4 separate regions of the Homo sapiens genome follow, and all the other regions are linked to region 1. Evidence: promoter capture Hi-C in human tissues and cell types (Jung and others, 2019). All regions are on one chromosome and are shown on one strand. Each heading gives the region's core, a stretch centred on a gene start or on the middle of the fragment in contact. The rest is flanking DNA. Distances are from core to core; before and after follow the strand shown.

The links. The method cuts DNA at HindIII sites, captures the fragments that hold promoters and counts their contacts. A contact is called where the count stands out against the background at its distance.
Region 2: a contact is called between a fragment that was not itself captured here and the fragment with the promoter of SLCO3A1 in region 1, in 1 of the 25 tissues and cell types used here (hippocampus).
Region 3: a fragment that was not itself captured here is called in contact with the fragment with the promoter of SLCO3A1 in region 1 in 1 of the 25 tissues and cell types used here (aorta).
Region 4: a fragment that was not itself captured here is called in contact with the fragment with the promoter of SLCO3A1 in region 1 in 2 of the 25 tissues and cell types used here (heart left ventricle and mesendoderm cells).

What each region holds. Positions count from the first base shown.
Region 1 is chr15:91,851,887-91,855,282 of GRCh38, reverse strand. It overlaps SLCO3A1 (solute carrier organic anion transporter family member 3A1), which reads right to left and starts at 1,575. Exons shown (of 10, transcript NM_013272.4): 1 at 1,195-1,575. The coding sequence starts at 1,374. RefSeq lists silencers at 1,971-2,110, 1,979-2,153. The HindIII fragment of the contact is 13,420 bases long and covers 1-3,396 here.
Region 2 is chr15:92,003,361-92,006,784 of GRCh38, reverse strand. The region is part of intron 2 of SLCO3A1 (solute carrier organic anion transporter family member 3A1); the gene reads right to left. Among named protein-coding and RNA genes, the nearest start is that of SLCO3A1, 150 kb to the right of the region's middle. The HindIII fragment of the contact is 7,034 bases long and covers 1-3,424 here.
Region 3 is chr15:91,985,399-91,988,506 of GRCh38, reverse strand. All of the region lies in intron 2 of SLCO3A1 (solute carrier organic anion transporter family member 3A1), which reads right to left. Among named protein-coding and RNA genes, the nearest start is that of SLCO3A1, 130 kb to the right of the region's middle. The HindIII fragment of the contact is 6,552 bases long and covers 1-3,108 here.
Region 4 is chr15:91,657,214-91,660,203 of GRCh38, reverse strand. No RefSeq gene overlaps it. Among named protein-coding and RNA genes, the nearest start is that of SLCO3A1, 190 kb to the left of the region's middle. The HindIII fragment of the contact is 8,960 bases long and covers 1-2,990 here.

The DNA of each region.
Region 1 (3,396 bases), core at 326-2,825:
TAGTTTATGAATGGTATACAGCCCCCAGCGTCTGGCCCTCATGAACTTTACCCCAAGGCCAGGAATGAGGGATTAATCATAGCATCAGGATACGCGTGGTTCTATCTCTGGATGTGGTTATTCAATGGCCAAAATCTTGTCCAATTCTATCTCCATCAAACTTGCTCAGGAATACTCAAAGTCTATGACATTTGATTCCAGTTGCGGGTCAATAGCCAAGTAATGATTTAACACTATAAACTCTCAAAAAAAATTTCCCGTTTAGACAGGACTGTACTTAGGTGTGGAAGCACGCTCTCTGGAACTCAAGTTGCGACCACCTGAGCAGAGGAGGCGAAAGCGACAAAGTAGGTACCTGACAGTGCTGAGTCATTACAAGCTGTTTCCTCTGAAATGTTACGCACCCATGGGCCCTCTGAGCATTAACATCCCCTTTCTGGAGGCAAATAAAATACATATTCATTGTGGAAAATGGTGCAACCTTCTGTAGGCGACAGACCACGATGGGGAATTTAGCACTAAGAGTGGATAGCAGGAACTACACAAACTCGCAGCTGCTCTCTAGGTACCGTAACTTTATCCCAGACGCTCAAAGAGGGCTATAGGGATACCGGGTGGCAATATTCCCCCTGCAGCCCCGGCTCAGGCCAGGGCCACACTAGGGCGCATTTCACTCTAAGCTGTTATATCCCCCTGTAATTGGCGGATGTAGAAAGCGCCCGGAGAAAATGATGCATAATAGATTTGTTCTCGAGGAGGATGCAATGGAGAGTAGAGGACGCAGGATGCTAACTGGTTTTTCTTCCCATGTGCAGGTCACCTGAAAACCCCGACGCTTTTTCGTTCCTCTCCAAGGAGAACCCTGAACTCACCGTCTCGCTCCGCTCTTATGGGGGGAGAGGAATAGTTTCACGCCCACCTGCCCGCCGCCTCTCCTCCCCCGGCACCCCCTGCCCCAGCCGGACGCGCGCGAGCTGCTACCGGCATCAACGGTCCCGCCCGCTACCCGCTCGCTGGCAGCCCCGGCCGGCAGCTCCCCCGGCGGCCGCCTCTGCACCACTCGCCAACCTCCACGCCGGGCCGAGGTCATGCCCGCCTGCCCCCAGCGCCGGGCGGCCCCCTCGTCGGGCCAGGCGGCCGCTCGAGAGCCGGGCTGGGGAAGGGGCCCGCGGCGGAGTTGGCTCGGGGACTCACCAGGTAGGCGCCCACCGTGCCCTGCGCCAGCATCAGGGCGCACTCGGACACCAGGAAGATCTTGATGTTGGAAAAGCAGGACACCTTCTTTTTCTTTTTCTTGTTCCTCTGCGCCTCGTCCCCCTGCAGCTCGCCGCTCCGGCCGCCGCCCGACGAACCGCCCGGCTTCTTCCCCTGCATCCTTCCCCCGCCGCCGCCGCCGCCGCCGCCGCTGCCGCTTTCCCGCTCGCCCCGGGTGTCGGGGCCGCTGCCGGGCGGGGGTGCGCGCCTCGAGGCTGCGTGCTGTCCCCGCCCCGGGTTCGCGGCGGCCGCCCCCGTCCTGCCGGGGCTGGAGAGGTGGAAGGCACAGCTCCTCGCCGCCGCCGCCGCCGCCGCGATCGCCCCTTCCTCCTCCTCCTCCCCCGCCTCCGCCCTCCCCTGGCCTCCTCCTCCGGCTCCGGCTGTGCCAATCACAGGGGCTCGTCGCGCCGCCCGCCGCCGCCGCTGCCTCGCCTCCCGCGGCCGCCCGCCGCTGCCATCGCCCGGTTCCCCTTGCCCGCCGGCCGCGCCTGCTCTCACCCCCTCAGCCCCAGCCCCAAGGCCTGGGCCTGGGCCGCCGCTGCGCGCCCTCGCCGAGCCGCTCCTCGCTGCCGGTGCGCCCCCGGGGAGGCACGGGAGGCGGGCTTGGGATGCGGAGGGCGGCCCGGCGGCCGAGGCTGGGAGGGTCCGGCTGCCGGGAGAACTGGGGAGACCCGGAGTCCTTGCGGAGTAAGGGGGGTGCCCCTGAGGGCGGGAGGCGGCGCCCGGCCCCTAGGTGGCGCTGCGGGGCACGGGGCCCCGCGGCGGAGACTGGCGGCTCTGCGCCGGGCGCGGAGATGGGGTGCGGAGGCGCCCCCGCGGGGCTGGGACCCGGCGCTCGGGAACCCGGGTGCCCAGGCCTCAGAGGGCAGGCTGTTCCCAGGAAGGGAGAATACTGAGTACCCAGGAAGGGCTTGGCGCGCGCTCTTCTCCGCCCGGGGATTTCTGGGGACAGATGTTGTGCTCTGGGTCTTGGGGAGGTGCCAGAGGTCAGAGCTGCTTGAGGCTTCTGCCGCCTGCCGGTTTCTGCCCCAGCTGTCCCCGGCCACAGGGGGTGTTGAAAAGGCCCCAGACCGAAAGGACAGAAAGGGGAAGTTAGAGGAATACGTCGGGAGCCCCACGGACCGTTAGTGCCCCAGCCTCGGTGTCCAGGCGCTGCAAGATCGCCGCGGCCCCAGCAGAGGGCCTTCTCCGGCCCTTCATCCGCCCAGGGCCCCGCTGCTGGAGCGCTCAGCAAGCGGCCAGCCGCAGGCCTGCTGGGTCCCCACCCGTCCCCTGGCTCTGTGGCCCTGGCCACCATCCTCGGCCTTGACCTGAATGCCTGGCCCATGGCAGCCGCTCCTAATTACTCCCCACTCTCACCGTTACCAAGGAGTGTGGGCCACAGGGCACTACCAATAGGATCTGCTAGTTCTCAACTGCAGCGTTTGGAAGCTGAGAGAAAAGCTCAGAGGGCTGGACAGGTACCAGGAAACAGCACCTTCCACCTGGGCCATTGGGGGACTCAAGGAATCATTTAAAACGGTTTCCTTAATAATTGTGTCAAAGAAAATGACCCACTCTCCCAAGCGCCTGTGTCCAAATGCAGGCTCAACTTCAAAACTGAATAGCAATGAACCCGACCATATTTTTCCTTTCTCCCGAAGAACTTGAATGAGAATGGAGGGTGTAATGGTGGGGATGTTGTTTTGCCATGGCATTTAAATATAAACTGCTTCATCCTTCTGTGGCTCCAGACGTGATCTCACCCAGGCTTGGTGTCGCTTTGAGATGCCCTCACCTTGTCTAGGCCACCTCCTATCTGAATTGGCTCCCCCCACACTTGAAGTCTCTTCCCGTCTTCCCCACTTCCTGAATCAGTGGTCACACCATTCCCGGCCAGTCCTATAATGAGAATCCTTACTGCCCCCTTCTTTCTTCCCCACACCCTCCTATCACTCGGAGCCAACTTCTCTGCAGGATCTTTATGTCCCCCTCTTTCCCTCCCCATCACTTTGCTTCATGGGCTACCTCCCCACTTCCTCCTGAGAAGACCCTTGACAAGCTAGCTCTGTTCCCTGCCTCTGTGACGGTAAGCTGCAAAGCTGAGCTGAGACTTGTCTACGAATGGTGACCCCATTGCTAATGAAATGTGCGGAGTGCTTT
Region 2 (3,424 bases), core at 787-3,286, 150 kb before region 1:
TGATTCTCTCTGCACTAGACACATCTATCCTGTTTATTACGCTCACTATGTTTTGTCTTTTGGGGCACTGGAAATCTAGTTTTGAAAAAGAGTTGAGTCTTTAACAATAACGGCAGTCATTTAAATGAATAGGAAATTGTTGTCGTTTTTTTCCTGCTGGAATTTTTTACTCAGCTCATCTTAAAGACACAAGGAGTGTTGGGCACAGAAAGGGCTGGATCAGGCAGACATATGCCAGATCAAAGTAGGAAACAGTCACCAGCATGAACCCCAGCACTCATTATTTGTGGGAAAAAGACTCACAGAGATTGACTTCTAGCAAGCTCATGACCTAATATGCCTCTAACCAAAAAGCACCTGTGCTCTTGAACTAACTCAGTAGCTGTACCAAAGTCCAGTAAAACTCATTCATTCTAACAAAGGTCAATCTGGCGCTCATAGAAGCTGTAGCTTATGTCATGGATCTTTAACTAATGTCACCTCTGAGCTCTTGGTCAGGCAGACCATCTGCTCTTAGAACCAGGATGGCGAACAGGCCCTGCTCTTTCTCGAAGTGCAGAAGTTAGAAAGGATGCAAAATTTTTAGGCAACTCCAGCACAACCTGGCTTATGTGAGAGACCTAATTAACCTCTGAATTTAATATTTTCTGATTGTTGCTTTCTAGGCTTTATAAAAAACAGATTAGCAAATTACCTAACAGCACGCCCAAGCATGAGACGACAGAGCAACTCAGCTGCTAACAGACACAGCCTGAGCACACCTGGTGTGGCATTATCTCCTTTCACATACAAGACGTTTTTAACCCTCACTGGGTGCAATTAGCTATTCCATTCCTCCTGTGAGAGTTAGAAGGGCTGAGTCTCAGAAACGCTTTCGCTCAGTCCCAAAGTCAGTGTGTGGCAGGTTCAGCAGTGGAATTCACATCCACTTGATTCCATGGCTTGAGTACTTTCTATCACATAGACAGGCCATCCCTACAAAAGGGAAGGTGACTGGGCCACAAGGGAATTATCCAGTGCATAACATCAAGAAATCTATCGGGTTGTGTAAAAGTGAGCTAGCGTAGGTGTGCTCTGCATCCCTCAGCGGTCAGGTGTATCCTCAAACTCAACTTCTCACAGGATAGGGGTCCATCCCCCCAGCTCTCTAGAGGCTGGGCAGCTGGCATTTCCAAGCACTCCTTTAAACAAGCAGCAGCAAAGCACAGGCAGGTGCTTGAGCCTAATGTGTGTTTTCCTCTGTGTAGGACTACTCTCACGCTTGCCTTGAAACCTGGACAGCAACAGCAAGGTAGAGATTCTCACCTACCCGCCAGACCCAGCATGAGTCCAACTGCAACCAGACTGAACCACACAGGATGTCAAGATCGCAGTGACAGATAGACCATCAACTTTCCAGACGCTCTTGAAGCGATCAGCCCCTTCGGCACACTATGGCCATCACTGCACCTCTGTGCAGGCTGTGACTGCCTGGCTAGGGCTGTTCTGAGCCAGGAACTTTAACCAGCAGATGGTTTCCATAAGCAAACACCAGGTGGGCAGAGCTACCTTGATGACTTTCTACTTACTGTTCAAAGGCCAATCACTTCCCCAAATGAGTTCCTGGGCCCAGAAAATCTCTCTGTAGGGTTCTAAAGACTTGTTTCTAAAAACAGCTAGAAGACTGAACTAATTATTTAATTAGATGCTTCAAAATAAACAATGCAAATATCATAAATCTTTTCATTTAACCACTGCTCTGCTTTTTAGTAAGTTGTGGCAAATAAAGCCACTGATATTTATTAGGGTTCAATAAGAGAGTTTCAGAGGCTTTAAAAGAGTTTTTAATTATCCCCATAAGGAAATGATGAGGCTTTCAGAGCTTAGAGCCATAGACCACACTTGGAGTGTTCTTCTGCTCTCTGCCAGACAGAACTACTTTAGGTAGGAGCTCAAATGCAGGCCATAGATGCATCCAGGATGAAAAGTAAAAGAATGTTTTTAACATTACACAAACCACCAGATTTCAGTCGGGACTAATGCATTTGAGGGACAATTGGGAGAAGCTCCAACTATTGCTTCTGGGATGCACCTGCATTAGTTCTCCAACTCACTCACCAGCATCTATCCCCTGCCAAACTCAAAGTGTCCTTCCAAATCACTTTGGAGATTTTGTTGATACACAGACTACGGTGACATCTAATCCAGGGAGTGAGTATCTTTGGTTTTTGGTGTTCTGTTTGTCAATAAAATGGCCAATAATTCATCATCTCTTCAACACTACTCAAGCATCTACTCTTCTAATGCTGCGTGGAGCAGAATTACTAAAACCACTCCCCTCTCCACGGATAGTCATCATCATTGTCATCACTGCCTAACCAGCTATACTCTTAGCTGCCTGTGTTAGGCCATATGCTGTGCTATGATGCCCTGCATACATTATCTCACTTAATCCTAACAGTTCCATGAGACGGACACCATCGTCATGGTCTTCACCGTATAGGAGGATGCAGAGGCTGAGCAGGGCTGCATGCCACAATCACACAGCTAGCAGGTGGCACAGCCTAGAACCTGTCCAGGTCTGTCAGCTCCAAAAACCAGACTCCCAGCTAGTCCAGCATGGCTCTCCACCTTTCCTGTGATTTAGCACAGACTGGAGCATGTTAAAGCTGATACTTACGAAGCCCTACCCCAGAGAGCCTCTCCCAGAAGGTCTGGGTGGGATCCAGGAATCTGCCCCTATAACCAGTGCCTGAGACGGTCCACGTACCACATACCATAAGGCACCAACCTATTTTGCACATTTCAGTTAATCTGGACGATTATCAGAATCCATGATAGAGGCTGACAGCTACAGCTGCTGAGCAGTGTGAGCATGGCCCTTCTGCAGCAGGTCCCCAGCTGCGCAGTGCTGATGGGGAGCACTGCCAGGCAATGCCTACTCCAGTGCCACCTCATTCAAACCTACTGCCAAGGGCTGTGATCCGACCCACAGCCTGGCCAGGCTGACCTGGTGTCATCTTCTGGCTGGTGGTGCATGTAATCCTGGCCCCGTATCCATGAATTCCATGGGGAACTAACTGTTGTGTATACCTACTGTATCACTCACGAAAGCCCTTCATCCCACAGGACAACCACTGCATGTCACTACTGAATCTTGTCTAGCTCTCATTTGCCAACTCCTGACCTTTCCCATGAAGTCTGGGATTTCTCATCAACGCAGCTGAGAAAATGACAGAAGGTCTGATGAAGGAATAACGAGGTATTCACTAACAAGATGTCCACTGATGAGACATCCTCTGATGGGAAGGGGGAGGCAGAATGACAAGATCTGTTGATAGATGCTGAGGCCAATGCATGACAGGCTAGCTGATGAAAAACTAATAAAGTACTAATAAGCAAAAGGAATGTATACTCCATAGTGTATCTTCTCTGAAGCCGAGAC
Region 3 (3,108 bases), core at 278-2,777, 130 kb before region 1:
TGTAATCAAGTTTTCCTTGGGCTCACTGAATTTTTAATTTCTTTAAATAAAATAAAATAACATTTAAAAATAAAATTAGTTTTATTTTTAAATGTTAATTTATTACGTTCACTTGTTATTTCATTAATGATGCTACACTTCTCATCTATGTCTTTATTGATTGATTGCGACAGGGCCTCACTCTGTCACCCAGGCTGGAGTGCAGTGGTGCAATCACGGCTCACTGCAGCCTCCTCCTCCCCCCACCATGCCCGGCTTATTTTTTTTGTAGAGACGAGGTTTCGCCACATTGCCCAGGCTGGTCTTAAACTCCTGAGCTCAAGCGATCCAGCCGCCTTGGCCTGCCCAAGTGCTAGAATTATAGGCGTGCACCACCGCACCCAACCCTACGCCATTTTTCAAAAGTATATCTCCTTGCTATCAGCCCCTAGAAAAGCCTGCATCTGTAAGTGATAAAACACAATTATCTGTCAGGTGACAAAGAATGGTACAGACATGGGTTTGTAAATCAAAATAAATTTGACACAAGTGTTCTTGAATGGATTCCCTTAATCCTTTGCCGGCAAATCCCACATCCTCCACGTGGCCACGAGGACCCCTCCTTTAGGTATTTAAATATCCCTTGTGCCTGCTGACTGATTATATCTTTTAAGACTCAGGAAAACTGCTATTTTTCTTCTGAGCTCTTTGAGAATCCATCAAATGTCAGAATGTCATTTGAGCTGCGACCACAATTAATTATTATTATCTTTTTTTTTTTTTTTAGACAAAGTCTCGCTCTGTCGCCCAGGCTGGAGTGCAGTGGCGCCATCTCAGCTCACTGCAACCTCCGCCTCCTGGGTTCAAGCAACTCCCCCTGCCTCAGCCTCCCTAGCAGCTGGGGTTACAGGTGCCCGCCACCACACCCGGCTAATTTTTGTAGCTTCTAGTAGAGACGGAGTTTCATGATGTTGGCTAGGCTGGTCTCGAACTCCTGACCTCAGGTGATCCACCTGCCTCAGGCTCCCAAAGTGCTGGGATTACAGGCATGAGCCACTGTGCCTGACTTTATTATTAACAAAACAGGCTTCTCATCAATAATACATAAATTCCAAGAGAGCAAGAACTTTGTCTTGTTCACCGTTGTATCCCCAGAGCATAATACATCACTTGACACCTGACACATGATAGGTGTTCAGTAAATACGTGTTGAATAAACAAGTTAATTCATTAGCACCTACTGAACACTAGGCTCTAGGAATATGGGGGAAAAAAAGGCAGATGTATGCTCCCCCTTCATGTGGCACCTACCGACACAACGCAAAGAACTGGGTTTTGTTCCCTTATTATCTGATTATTGCTGCCACTCTTCTCAACTATACGGTTTTTAAAACCTGCATCACCTTCCTAGAAAATGTCAAATCTGTAAGCGATAAAAAGCAACTTCTGCTCAGGTTGCAAAGAATCTTTGGGGCTGTGAAGCCCCAAAGATGAGTAAGAAATGGTCCTTGCCTGTGTCCCTGCCTGGATACACTGAGATGGACAGCATCTGACCATGGCCACCACCAACCTTCCTCTCTCTTGACCGCTGACAGCTACCAGAATTTATGGGCAAAGGTACAAATGGAGATACCCTTCTCCCCATATGCCTTGACATTAAAAGTTTAAATTCAACCTAACAAACTTAAAATATGTTCTATCTTCCTATTTTTACAAATATATCTTCATAACAAAATCAAAACTATGAAAAAGCAACAGTTCATATTAAATAGCTATGGAGAGTACAAACCCAAATTAACTTCATTTCGCACCAAAGGCCATGATCCCCTCTGGGGCTGCCCTGTCCAGGAGGTTAACCAATGCAGCTGGTCTGAACTGAGGTGCGCTGGAAGTGTCAACCCACATCTGATTTTGAAACCTAGTTTTTTTTTTTTTTTAAAAGAATGTAAACGTCTCACTAGTAATGTTCACATTGATCACTTACTGAAATTATATTTTGGCTCTATTAGGTCAACATAAAATGAATTTTACTTCTTTCTGCATACTTTAAAAAAAAATGGCTACTAGAGAATTAAAATGACACCTGTCACTCATACTACCTTTCTTTGGGACAGTGAGCTCTAGGAGGCAGGCAAGGATGGAAGGAAAGGATCCTGCTGCCAATAGGCACCCACAGCCACTTCCCCATCTCCCTAATCTTATCTCCCCGGAATCCCATGGGGTGAACACCCACCTTTTGTCCTCTTCCCCAGGAAGCCAGGGAGGCTCTTTACCCCCTGACCCAGGCTCAGCTGCTTGCCCACCATCACACCCCTACCTGGACAGTAGCCGAGGAAAGGGCAAATATAGGCCGAGCATGGTGGCTAGCAGGTACTCCCTCATCTCTCAAAAAGCCATGCCACTCAGCCTCTGCCCACCAGGTGCTCCCAGAGCCCACCTCCACTGGTTTCACCTTGTCACGCTCCTCAAGGGAATGTAAACTCAGAGGACCAGATCCAAATGTGGAATTCCCAGCCTCCTTGGCACTGGAAGCCTGTTACAAGGGGGAGAGCCATACCCTGGTCATGGCACCCTCTTCCCCCAACCCAGGGCTCCATCCTGCTCCTCGAAGGCCTCCCCCACCTACACGTAGACTAGGAAGCCCACAGGAACCAGCTCCGTGCACTCATTCCTCCTTCCGTCCTGTCTCTGATGAGAAGCATCTCTTGGCCACCCCTTCAGGCCACCTTCTGCAGGACAAGCAGGCCCTGGAAGTGGTCCTGTGGCCCTTTGCAAGCAACCACCCTCCAGAACTGGCACACTCCTGAGGAGCACTAGTGCAGGGCCCTCTGTGACACAGGGCCTGAGGGACCCCATTGTCTGACGTAAGGACCATGCTGACAGTATCCACCAGAACAGCTAAAGCTAAAAAGACGACACTAATACCAAGTGTTGGTGAGCGTGGAACTGCTCCTCAACCCGTGCTCATTAGGAAACGTACACTGACACTTTTGGGCAGTATTACTAACAATGAACATACCTCATGACTCAGCAATTCCACTCCTAGGTGCGCATCCCACATAAATGTGGGCATATGTTCACCAAAACCCAGGGACAGTAATGCTCACAGAGACACTATTCATGATAGCC
Region 4 (2,990 bases), core at 73-2,572, 190 kb after region 1:
GCAGTGGTGGAAACAGGTGTTTGGTGATGGGGAGCAAGGTGTGTGTAGGCATCCGAGGATCATGAAGTGTTAGCACTTAGGCTAGGAAAAAAGTTTCTATCCTCAATTTTCTCATTCACGAAATCAGAATTATTACTCATCCTGCTTTTCTCAAAATCACAGAGAATTCTAAAAGGCAGATTTTATAGTTCAGAACCACACCATCCAGTAGGACTTTCTGCAATATTGGAAATGTTCTATACATCTGCACACCCAACATGTCCACCAACTCGATAGTCACTAGTCATAGATGGCTATTGAGCACATGACGCTTGACTAGTATGACTGAGGAGCTGAATTTTAATTTATGCTCAGTATTAATTAAATTTAAATAGCCACACGTGGATAGTGGCTACTGCACTGGACAGCACAGGGAGGTTATCTAATTGAAACTACACTTCTTAGTCCATATTCTTCCTAGAAGTACCCCAAACCTATAATCCAGTCTTTGGGCATCAGTTAATGATGAGAAAATCATGATTGCCCAAGATGGTTCCTTCCATTTCAGGCTTCTGCTAAAGAAAGATGAGCCTATTTTGTCTCCATGTCAGCTTTTAGCATTTTCTACATTCTGGTCTTAGTGCCTTCTTCTGGGGACACTCATAGATGTAATTCCTCAATCTAGATGAGGGGCTTTTGAGAACTTGAAACATTTAGTATGTCAGTGGTTAATCTCTACTTCAGGCAAAACATGGTTTGAATACTATCTATTAAGAGAACAACTTTTGGAATCAGACTCCTTGGTTTTAAATATCAGCTTCATCATTCACCAAATACATGAGAGAAGACAAATTGCTAATCATAATCTCTGATTATTGTTTTCCTCCTCTATAAGATCATAGGAGAGTTGAAAGAATTAAATAAGATTGAACAGGTGAAACCACTGGTAGAGTCCATGGCCCATTGTAAACAATCCTGCAGTGTATTTTTTATTGTCAATGGTCTCCTCTGGATGTTCTCCCATTTATCAATGTCCTCTTAAAATGCAATATCCAGAACTCCGAGAATGTGTGTATACGTGCTTTGTAATCTAAAAGGCCACAAAAATATGATATATTGGTTTTGTTCTTATTGTTAGGATCACCGGGGTTTCCCTCTCTCCTCTACTTCCCTTATTTTAGTCATCATGGTGTTTGGAGCTTCTTTTGTACCCTAAAGCAGTACAACAGCTTCTTGGCTAGAAGAATCTTAGGACAAGATTGGTTCAATCCTGACAGAGAGAAATGTTCAGAAACATTTATAAGTCAAAATATTACCATATTTCTCAGTCTCTACTTATGAGCTGTTCCCTTCCATCAGGCATTACGCCAGAAAGAGCTGGAGGAGAGATGCTTGAAAGGGTATAGCCATAAGATGTTCTCTTCTTTCATATGGCAGGATTTATACCCATGCCACAGCCAAAAAGCAAATTACTTGCATTTTACATATGAGTGGTACCAGAAAAAAATAATTTGGGGCAATTAAAAATAAATTGAAAAAGCAACAACAAAAACAAGAGTATTATTCCAAGTATGTGATCATCAAAGCCATGTTTTCAGGTGGTAATTCACAGAAATGAAGACAGGCAGAGCTGGTGTTGTGCTGGAGTCTACTTCAAGTGGCATGAAAGAGCTGATTACTAAATTTTCAAAAAATTGGCAAGCTGGTTGACATCACAGTGGTAGCCTGAAACTGGCCGTGGAAGGAGTATTTACACACTGAAAACTGGCAAATACTACTCCGCTACCTTCTTGAACTCTTCCGCATCTCAAGTCCCCTTTGCTTCTTGGGTATTTCATTTCTTCCTTGAATCCAAAGATAAAGGACGTCCACCTGTTGAGTTTAGTATGGCATTTTGGAATCCAAACAAAGTCACCAGATATCACCAGATCATCCTGGAATAATTGAAGTAACCAAGCACCCAAGGAAGACATTTTAAAATGTTGTGTTGGAAATATCTTTGCTCACTTATCTTGTGGACTAATACTGACATCTAATGCTGCCTGCATCCCGTGACTCACTGTGGGATCTTAGGGAAATCATGTAGGCTTTGATTGCCTGCCTGGGGAGTGGAAATCTTCTCAAGCCTTTTCTGTCTTAGATCTTAGCTAGGTTAACTAAGAATAAGATATAGGTTACAGTGGAAAATATTAAATGCAATTTCAAGAAAGCATCTTTCATGAGGTTTAAATTACTTTGGGTGTAAGTAGTAACCCTATCATGAAAGAGTCTCTGTATTTAACATAAGTTTTGTTCAGAATGGGTACTGAATTTTGCCCATTGCTTTATCTGCATTGTCTAATTGATACATCATCTTATGATAATAGATTTTTGTAGGTGCATTTTTAATCACCTAACATTTATTAAAGACCTGGTATATACAAGACCCTCTGCTGGAAGCTTTATTTATCAAAAAACAAAGACAAAAACAAAAACAAAACAAAAAACAAGAAAAACAAAAAAACCCATAAATGTTGCAAGTGCTGAAACTGAGAGCCAAGCAGTCCAGTAATGCCCCAGGCCACACAACAGTAACACACAGAGCCAGGATTTCATTTTTCTGACTTCTAGAGCAGAACTTTGTTTATTCCACTAGCAGTGGTTGCATCCCACTCGCAAGAGTAATTGATTTGGTAAATAAGGTACTTTAAAAATTTTTGAGCCAACATTTATAAAACTTGGAGAATTCACATAGCCATCAAAAATGTTCTTTCATTTATTAGCTATTGATGAATATTCTGCAGAGTCAGCTTTGGCCGGGTAGCTATGCCCCTTTGGAGGGAGCACATGCTTGCCAGGTCCCTGAAGTCTCAGCCACCCTCTACTCAATGAAGATTAGGGTCAGTGCCACTTGCCAGCTGCTCACGGTGGCATTTTTCTTTATAGTAGAGAAATAGTTCTCTGCAATTATGCCCTTATGAAAAATGGGAAAATAAAAAGGTAGACTTGAAGGGATGATGGCAGAGAGCATA